Regions from separate parts of the Homo sapiens genome. Here region 1 is linked to region 2. The links are contacts of gene promoters, found by promoter capture Hi-C in human tissues and cell types (Jung and others, 2019). All regions are on one chromosome and are shown on one strand. The core of a region is centred on a gene start or on the middle of the fragment in contact, and the rest is flanking DNA. Distances in the headings are between cores, read along the strand shown. Region 1 has its middle 6.4 kb from the start of CLDN8. Region 2 holds the start of KRTAP13-4 (keratin associated protein 13-4).

Region 1 (5,139 bases), core at 412-2,911, 210 kb before region 2:
AGCCTCCCAAAGTGTTGGGATTACAGGTGTGAGTCACCATGCCCAACCGCTCTTTTCACCACCTCTGTGTGATCTATTTTCAGTTGCTCTGCTTAAAAATGAACTCCTTACTGCATAGAAATTGCCTAGTATCTTAGCCAATTCAAGCTGCTTTAACAAAATACCACAGACCAAGTGGCTTGAACAATGGAAATTTATTTCTCATTCTTCTGAAGTCCCAGATCAGGGTGCCAGTGTCACTGGGTTCCGGTGAGGACCCACTTCTCAGTTTATAGAAAGCTGTCTTTATGAGATGACTTCACATAGCAGGGAGAAAGTGTGAGCTCCAGTCTCATTCTCTTCTTATAAAGACACTAATACCGTCATGAAGATTTCACTTTCATGACCTCCTCTACAACTCTCAAAGTTTCACTCTCAAAGACCTCACTTCCAAATCCCATCACATTGGGGGTTAACATTTCAACATATGAATTTAGTGGGTACACAAATATCCGGTCTGTAACATCTAGCTACTAACAAATTCAAGCAATAAAATTTGCATAATTCTGAAGGGTCTACTGGTGCTTAAGAACTTCACCCATATTATATCACCCATATCAATATTTCATTTTTCCAAGATGAAAAAAGAATGGTGAACATGAATTAAAAAATCAATAATAGAAATAGTGTCATGGACATGTTTTTACCTTTCTTTCGCTTTTCATTGCATTAAAAAAATTAAAACCTAAGTATAGGATGAATTCTGATATATTTTGAAAGACAGGTCTGTGTATTTCATGTGATATATTTGATGTCTCTACTAAAGTACTGGAAATCCAGGGAGATAACTGAAAAAAGCAAAACTGTATACTGTGGAAATTTTCCTATAAATTAATGAGTAATTTATATATGGAGAATTGATGATGTGAAATACCCTAATTCTAATGATTTCAGGAAAAATTTTAAAAAAGAAAGAATTTGCTGGTAATAGCAGCTACTGAGTATTAAATGTTCTCTATACAATACATTCTTTTTATCACTCTACTTTATACTTAAAACATTTTTAGAAAGCAGGGGTCATTACTCTCCTTTTATAATTGAATAAATTAAAACTCAAGAGAGACTGCCTTTTTTAAGGCCACACAGACTTTGCTGGTTGAATCTACAGAAATGGAATTCAGAAGCAGACCTAAAGCCCACATTCTTTTCTGTATTGCCTACCATCTCCTTAAAGAGAACTAGGGAAACAGAATTTCTTACATTGGCATATATGGTCAGAGTTAATTAAGATATAAAATATGTTCAAAACATTTTTCGTCCTTGCTTAGCACATTGTTGTAAAAATTTTGCATGGCCAACCTTCGCAATTTTTAAAACATACCTGCTTCACTGAAATTTGAAATCTACCTCTTTAGATACTCTATTCAAAGGAGTTTCTACTGGGGAAATATTGGCAATTTCAATAAAATTATTCCTTGTTTAGAATTTGAGAGAGTTCCCTGTGCTGAAGGTACCAGTGGCACCCCTTTTTCCTTCACTTCCCATGCTTGTCCCCATCTTCGTGATTCCTTAATTACAGACTAGGTCGTGATACTGAATGACCTAACCACCACTGAACAAGTATTTGGCTAAAGTAAGCATTAAACTATTTCAATGCAATGAAAGTGAACAGTTACATGTGTCTGTGCCCTCAGCTAATTATAATACAGAGAAACTTTCCTTTGTATTTTATAGGGACTTCTTAGTGACCAACAGAGGAATGATTCTATGGTTACCTTCATTAGTCCATTAAAATTGCTTTTTCAGGTGACTCACTAACAACTTTTCTTTTTACCTTTTCCAAACGCTAAAATTAAAAAAAAAAAAACATTTTTAAGTTGTATAAAACTGTTTTCCACATGGTTATTTTTGGAATTGCTTGAAAAACAAATTTTTTAAAAAAATCCCTTAATCTCCCATAATAATCCTTTCTACTGAAATGTAAAGCATATGAAGCATTGAATGAGGAGAACAAACGGTCCATGACAAAAGTTTCTGGCCAGGCAGAGACTGTAATTAGTACTAAAAATGATAACATCAGATAATGAACAGGACCAAAACAGAGCACTTTTCATAATTTTATTTTGAATCCACAGCAATTCACAAGTTTAAGTCATGTTAATTATAAAAAGGAAGAGAAGAGAAAAGGCACATAGGATAATAGATAATATATTTAATATGACTATGCTTAAAATAATATATTTTAATAAATATTACTTAATCCTAGTCATAAGAACTACTTAATAATTACTAAGTTATATGAACAATTAAGATTAAGTGATATCATATTAGTTAACCATATGATTTCAGCCTCCCAACGCCCTTATTAGAAAAGCCCTTTATTATGTCAGTTTTACTAGGAAACTGGAATTTACAAAGTTTAAATAACTGACCCAAATCCTCACAACAAACTGGTAAAAAAAGCCAATATGGGAACTCTATTCTGTCAAACACCTGAGGCTACACTCTTGACCCACTATGTGCTACAAGTCATTATAGACCTACCTGTAAACCTAATTGAAAGCTTGTGTCAATGTGTAGTTTTATCTCTTATAAAGCATATAAGTTTTGGTAGATCAGAAGGAGTTCTCTGAAACAATGTCCTTCACATTGTGAATTTTCAATAGGATTTTGAGCATTATAAGGAGAAATGAAGTGTTTCCATTTTCTGCAGCAACATGCATTGTTTAATATGAGAAATCATAAGATATGAGGGAAATCATAAGATATAAGGGAAAAGTCCACACAAATGGAAAACACATACAAGGGTGCACACACACACACATACACACACACACAAAATGTCCTTATAAGCAAACAATGAATATAGGAGCACAAGAAACAATTTCCCTTGTAAAGTTGAAGTTAACAGGACAGGGAACAGGACAGGGAAAAGTAATTAACTGGGCAAATAGAGCTAAGCCACATTACTGATTAATTTGCAAAACAATTAACTTTCCACTTAAAATTCAAATTAAGATTCTGTCTGCCTTAGGCAACCAGTGTTTGCAAATTTTAATAGGGCTAGACATTAAGTGCCTTACTTAAAACCAACTTTACATGGCACTGGGTGAGAATATTATTGGAACAAGCAGCTCATGGCATTCTTGGGTTTCAGTTATTTTTTTAAGAGAAAATATTACAATCTATAATAATATGCTGGATGCACTAAAATTTTTTCAATGAGAATATGAGTAAAACTAAAAGTTATTCAACTCCTCATCTCAAATATTTATAGAGATTTTGTACTTTCTGTAAAATTTTCAAGACGATGTCTCATAAAACATCTTCTGAACACTTATTTTCCAACCGTTCAACAAGTATACTATGTACCAGGCCCTGTGATAGACTCTGGAAACCAAGAAATATGAGGCATAGTTTCTTTTCTTTGTAATTTTACATCCACAAAACTGAGGGGCTAGTGGAAGAAAGAACTGCTGAGTCAATTAACTCTGTCATTGGTTAAACTTGTTAACCAACTATTCTTTTCAACTTGAAAAAGCATACAAGTAGCCACACAGACAGGTGAGAACAGCCACCCTTCACTCCATTGAAAAAAAAGCAGCTTCCAGGGTTTTGATGTTTTCTAAACAAGATCAAACAATCAATGAAAAGCAATGCCAGGAGTCTATAAACATTCAGCAGAGGTAAGCTGGCTGTCTCACATTTTCACACACCTTTCTGGTTCATGCAGCTCCTATTTCTTGTTCTTATCTTTCTTTTTCTCTGACCTACGTTCCAGATATCTTTAGAGTTGCTGCTATGGGGAGCTGTATGTGATTATCTGACTGGCTTCTGGGCATCTTTTTCATAGTTTTAACTGGACTTTTGATGTCTCACACTGGACAACAACATTCTATTTCATTCTTATGTCACCAAACTGGTTGGTCCCAGCCCACATGGCCTCCTTCCTGGTCACGAGCTTGGAACAGGGAAACACAAGTTACTTTTGTACATGGCAACAGGAGAGAATATTAGACTCAAAACAGATCTAAAAGAACATCTGATGTGCACTTCATTCTGTACATGAGGGGCTCAAAAGCTCCAGGAAGTCAGGAACCACCTCTGTTCTATTCATCTTCGTGTCAAAGTAAAGTACTTGTGTAGTGCCTGGCACATAGAGAGCACTCAGTATTTATCTAATACCACGCAAATCACGCTGAAATCTCTGTGCCCAGTTCTTGATATTTGCTTGGTAACTCGGAAACTATGACACCGTAGACAAGTAAACTGCCTATTGCTTATTTATGTATTTGTCTTTTTAAAAATCTCCTAAAATAGAATATAAATATCATGAGCCACATGATTTTGTCTTGCTCATAAATGTATTTCCAACTACTAAAACATCACCTGGTTCATAGTAAGAGCTCAGGAAATATTCCATAAATAAAAGAAGAATGTTAGTTAAGAAAAATAACCTATGTACCCAGTATTGTAAAAAAAAAAAAAAAAACTCTCCTATATATAAGTTATATAATATTTTCAGTTTATTTTTTCAGGTCGATGCTTAAGCAGAGAAGAGCCTAAAATAAAACTCACCTTTGGCTGTATCAGCCCATCACTATGCCTCTGAATATGCCTTCTTAAGAGGTAAACTTATGTCCCAGTGGGTTCATGAATTTTACTTCAGCTTTCTTTAAGTTTCCTAAGTATGCCCTGTGAACTGACCTTCATTTTCTCATTTATTCTATCTCATTTCTCTCTTCTCAGTATGCAAATCCCATTTTTCCAATGCTTGCTATTATTAATCCAATATCCTTCCAATTACCATGGCAAATATTGATGGACTAAGAGCCTAGGCTACCATTTTTGTTTAATATATAATTTTACTATACCAAGGAATCATTAATTATAATTATTTTTCTCTAAGTATATTAACACAAATACAGACAAATACAATATAGAATAATACATAACTAATAAAAATTAATACACATATACTTTTAAATTTTAGAAAGAACTTACATGTATATTTTATGCAAATAACTTATATGTATGTTTTATGCACTTTCTCATTGAAGTAAGATTTATTTTGCTGTTACTTTTTAGGAGATGTTTGATATCCTAGGGAATTTTAGTGTTTTTTTGACCATCGCTAAATTGGAATTCTTATTAGTTAAT
Region 2 (5,626 bases), core at 2,935-5,434:
CTCACATTTTTGTGCTCCCTCATTTACATATGTGTAGCTCAGCAATCTTGCCTGTAATTGCATTTGAATACTTTTCCACATGTTGTATTTATGCGTGCTATAATTTTGGTGTTATAGCACAAAGCCAATGAACTGCACTTATGCCAGAAATGCTATGACTGTTTCGTATTAATATTTATTTTATTATGTCTAGGAAAGCACCTCCTTTTCCTCCTAGCATAATTTTCATGTGTCTTGTTATTGGCTGTTATGGGCAATAATTTTCCCTAAACAGTGAGAAATGAGATAAAGTTACATGTCTTTTTTGTCAATGGATTAGAGACACAACTTTGGCCTTAATGAGAAACCTGCTGAAAACTAAACCTACATGTCACCATCCTTTCTCATTCCACAAAAGTTTCCTTCATCTATTATGTACTGTTACTCACTGTGTCTCACATCCAGTGTAGAGGGAAAAGTATGAGCCAAGACAAATTGAATAACATTGATGCCTATGACCAGAAGGAAACCTGGACAATTATTTGGAGACATGGTGACAGCAAGGGATGGAACTGAGACAATCACAAATGAAAAACAATTCTGGGGCCTTATGAAGAGAATTAAAGTGTTAAATAAACACACACCATTGAAATGACAGAAAAAAATAAATGAATTTTAGATTCAATGCATCTAATATGAGGCCCATGGTCCTAAGAGATTCTCATTCATATGTGTGGCAGCCTGGAGAATTCTCATCTCGGATCTTAAATTACAGGAGGCTTAAATAACCAGTGGTCCTACCTGCTGTGTTCTAAAAGTTAACACTGCATTTTTGGGGAAGGCTTGCTTTCTCTGGGCTGCTCCCAAGCAAAGACTGAGCACAGTGGGATATAGGAATTCCTGGAAGACAATTGACGGCCAGCTTTGACTCAGGGTTTCCTCAACGGCCTTAAAGAACTACTGTCTCCTGCATAGGTCTCAAGCACTTCTTTCTCTTTCTCCTTCACTTGGGCCAGACCTATGTCCAAATCTTACAACTCTCCCAGCCTCTCTCAGGGGAGACTCTGGAAAGAGAAAAAATGCAGAAAATCTGTAAATATTTAATCTTGTTTATACTTTTTAAAAAGTGATACTGTTTGGATTTGTGTCCCTGCCCAAATCTCAGGCCAAATTGTAATCCCCAGTGTTGGGGAAGGCCTGGTGGGAGATGATTGGATCATGGGGGTGGATTTCCCCCTTGCTGTTCTCGTGCTAGTGAGTTAGCTCTCATGAGATCTGGTTGTTTAAAAATGTGTAGCACTTCCCCCTTCACTCTTTCTACTGCTTCCCTTGTAGGACTGCCTGCTTCTCCTTCATTTTCTGCCATGATTGTAAGTTCCCTGAAGCCTCCCCAGCCGTGCTTCGTGTACAGCCTGCAGAACTGTGAGTCAATTAAACCTCTTCTCTTTATAAATTACCCAGTCACAGGTAGTAGTTTATAGCAGTGTGAGAATAGACTAATACAAAAAGTAAACCAATTTTTTGAAGGATAGCAAAAAATTTAAACTGAACATTTTATCTTGAGTATGCCAATCAGGGTAAACAAAAAAAAAATTATTTCAGTTGTTCAATGATTTAGAGAAACAATAAACAAACTTTTGAGTTTAGTTTTGGAGCTTATGTTCAGACTGTCTCCAGGTAATATCTGCTAAAACTCATTTTTTCAGCCATCTCCACCTTAGTTAGACTAGATCTACACCATTCTCCTATTATTTCACGTGTGAGTTGATGTCTTTTATCAAGATTGGTAAATTCCCAACTGTACTCTCTTCAAATATTGCTTCTGCCCCATCCTCTCATCTTTCTTTTGCTTAGATTCCAATTATAAGCAAGGTACACTTTTTAACTACATTACATATGGCTTATACTCTTTTTTCTATTTTCAATCTTTATATAGAAGTATTGGCTTTTGCTTATTGAGGTTGTAACCTGGATGGTTAGTGAAAGCAAGATTTTCCAGCATGTTAGTGACAAGTTGCCTGGTTATTTTGAAAAGAGAAGCAGGTAGGTGCCAAACGTTGTAATTTTCAACTATGGATGAGATTCTGTTGAAAACATATCTCAAATATCCAAAGCCATTATTCATAGCCCAGTGAAGAGAATCATCTGTCAAAAGATCAGAAGCCTTTTGATGTATATCCCTGAGCCATATATTTTATGTGAAAGATCTCAATTTTTAATTGTTGATAAATAATTCAGTCAAAAAAAGAAACAACAATGATGAGGCTCCATATTAAACAGAACAAATAATATGATCTCCAAGATGAAGTGAGTCCAAAGTTGTGGCATTTACAAGTTCTTCTTAAACTTCTATCAAATTAATGTGGACAAAGTTTTAGAGATTTAGAGGCAGAGAGAAGGGAAGAACACCTCTTTTCACAATAACTGGTTCAGAGAAGGATTTTTGAATAAGGAGCCTGGATTAACTGAAGACAAATTCACTAAATCCCTTAGTTTTGCCTGAATAAATTCATGCTCTCCATTTAACTCATAAGTTTTGTATTCAAGATTATTTTAAAGAGTTACATTTGAAACAAAAGAAAATGGGGAAGGAATAGTTTCCAAACCTACTTACTAAGGTACAAGGTTAGGGGAAATCAACTGCCATTGAAAAATAGAAAGTAACTCACTGAATAGATATTTGAATTGGCCATATTTGCTTCTTTCTTCATTCTTCCTTCTGGAAGGCCTATATTAAGTTACTTTTCAATATTGCCATACATTTTAATTGAGAAAATTTAATCGAGAAAATGTCTAACATTATTGTTGTAAGTTTATTATATTTTATTATAAAATAAAATGTCATCAACCATGACAGTACACTTTCTTTGGTCCTGAATATAATTTAACTACTTGTATTTCAACATAGAATATTTTGTGAATGAACTTACAAAGTGGCTATCCTCAAAGAATACGACAAAGCTGTCCAATTTTTATTTTTCAACATGGAATCTATAATTCAGCAGAGGCAAACAAACACATGAACAAAACATAAAATATAACAAGTAAAAAAAAGAAAAAAGATAAAATCAAACTTAAGCACAGAAAAAAGAAAGAAAAATAGAGGGAAAGAAAGTCAGAGGAAGAGAGAGAGAAAATAAGAGAGAAACATTCATATACCATGCAGAGGAAAAGAGGACTGGGGAACAAAGAAACTTCACATTTTCACAGGAAAATGTAGGATGGTACCTGGTTCTACAAGTGGCAAAAAGACACTGAAAGCCAGTAATATGGAAAGCTAGAGCCATTCTAAGAAGGTAGAAGTCCTGTATAATTACAAAAGTAGATGATAAATATATCAAAGTTCATAAGATTTGCTAATTTTGAAAATTTTTGCTCATAAAGACATTGAGACAAGACACATGACAGCTGGAATGCAATAGGAAAAAAAATTCTGAAATTCCTGAGCTTTCTCTTTGTTTCTCTTTCACTTGTTTCCTCCCTTCAGCAGACAAGCATTCGGGCTCTTTGGCTGAAGAGACATGACCTCAAATTGATCTTCTCTGTGACTGTGTTTCAATCGAGCTTCTTTTTGTTATCTCGTCTTTAAATAAATGGCAAGGTTTCTTTCAATTTCTAGCCATTTCTTTCTATCTCTTTGCTTTGCCTGTTCTTGATCTTTCTTCACTGGATATGAGACAGACTTTATAACTGTAGTACTTAATGTATTAATTTACTCTTACCGCCCTAAAAAATCACCACAAAGTAATTTTGGAGTATAGCAATCAATGGTGACAAGATGGATCATTTTCACAAAGGTTCTCATCCAGGTGGAAATTGCACCAGAAAGAAACTAACGTTATCTCATTCCCCACTCTTAAGAGGAAAACATCTACTAGCAAAGCCAGATGTGAATACACAGGAAAAGAGGCAGTTAGCATGTGCCAAAGAAATAGGAAGAGCTTTCCTTGTCATGATGAGCTAGACATTAATATAAAACAGTCATAGCATTTCTGACATAAGTACAGTTCATTGGCTTTGTGCTATAACACGAAAATTATAGCACCCATAAATACAATACATGGAAAACTATTCAAATGCAATTACAGACAAGATTACGCAGTTACACATATGTAAATGAGGGATCACAAATATGTAAAGGATGACCCTGTTGGGCACCACACCTATTGCTGAGAGGATATAAATGCCCTTGTCCAGGATGCGACATTAAAACTCAGAATCTTCTTAGGTACACTCAGCTGAACTCCCATCTCTCATCAGCATGTCCTACAACTGCTGCTCTAGAAACTTCTCCTCCCGCTCCTTTGGGGGCTACCTGTACTACCCAGGCTCCTACCCCAGCAGCCTGGTCTACAGCACTGCCCTCTGCTCTCCCAGCACCTGCCAGCTGCGTTCCTCTCTCTACAGGGACTGTCAGAAGACCTGCTGGGAGCCCGCCAGCTGCCAGAAATCCTGCTACCGCCCCAGGACCTCCATCCTCTGCTGTCCCTGTCAGACGACTTGCTCTGGATCTCTAGGCTTTCGGTCCAGCAGCTGTCGCTCCCAGGGCTATGGATCTAGGTGCTGCTACTCGCTGGGAAATGGATCCAGTGGCTTCAGATTCCTGAAATATGGAGGCTGTGGTTTTCCTTCCCTGAGTTACGGATCCAGATTCTGCTACCCAAACTACTTGGCTTCTGGAGCCTGGCAGTCTTCTTGTTACAGACCAATCTGTGGATCTCGCTTCTATCAATTCACCTGCTAAATTTCTAGATCCTTTTGAGTATTGGGATCAAAGTCTCTACTGAATGCAGCCATTATTTTCATTCTTGCCAGATCCCAATATCTTTTTATTCTTCCACCACCAGCTTCTTGCATGACCAACTTCTGGCAGACTGCGAAATTAATGAGTAACCTAATATTAACTTCTAATATCTTTACCATTGATCGAATATATGCTATCTGATTTTCATCCAAAAACTGTTGAAAATGGAAATTTTAATCTAATAAATGTATGTAATCTGGTACCCAAATATATTGTTCACATTGTTATTATTTTATTATTATTATTTTGCTTACATTTTTGCATTCAAGAATTTGGGAGATTTAAGTAAAAATCAATATGACTGTGTAACTGGATTTGGGGCCCATATAATCTGACAGATCTGAGAACATTTCTCTTGAAATTAGGTATGTTGTCTATTAAGAGTAATCATTTCTGGAAGAACATAGTTTGCATCTGCAGACTTGTCTCAACAGCAGTGAGAATTGTCTAAGAATGAAGGACATGCATTTCTACTGATATAGGAAAGCAGAAAATTTGATGCATAAACTAGAAATGCAGACAACAAGACTAGGATGTAATTTATAAGGTAAACTGTATGCTTGCACTAAAGGTTACTTAAAGTCTAGTATCTGAATGTGGATTTTCAACCAAGAGAAAAGTGAAGCTTAAGCACTGCTAGGACAGACGCTTTGCTCTTTGTTAGTAGACTTAAGTGCCAGGTTTCCTGCCTCCCACTGGTAAGGAGAGTCAGGATCATTCACCAATGATCTTAAGTGGGAATTATTGGGTCCAGGAGGCTTCGGTAACCTACCGATGCTTCTTCAAGGCTCAACCTTAATCAAGCTGACAGCAACACACCTGAGCCATGCTGAACAAGCATTT

The links. Contacts are between HindIII fragments. The study calls those that stand out against the background at their distance.
Region 1: a fragment that was not itself captured here is called in contact with the fragment with the promoter of KRTAP13-4 in region 2 in 2 of the 25 tissues and cell types used here (stomach and thymus).

The regions. Positions count from the first base shown.
Region 1 is chr21:30,219,949-30,225,087 of GRCh38, forward strand. No RefSeq gene overlaps it. Among named protein-coding and RNA genes, the nearest start is that of CLDN8, 6.4 kb to the left of the region's middle. The HindIII fragment of the contact is 8,230 bases long and covers 1-5,139 here.
Region 2 is chr21:30,426,036-30,431,661 of GRCh38, forward strand. KRTAP13-4 (keratin associated protein 13-4) reads left to right here and starts at 4,185. Exons shown (of 1, transcript NM_181600.3): 1 at 4,185-4,991. The coding sequence starts at 4,241. The coding sequence ends at 4,723. The region is part of intron 3 of LOC105372772 (a long non-coding RNA gene); the gene reads right to left. The HindIII fragment of the contact is 9,351 bases long and covers 887-5,626 here.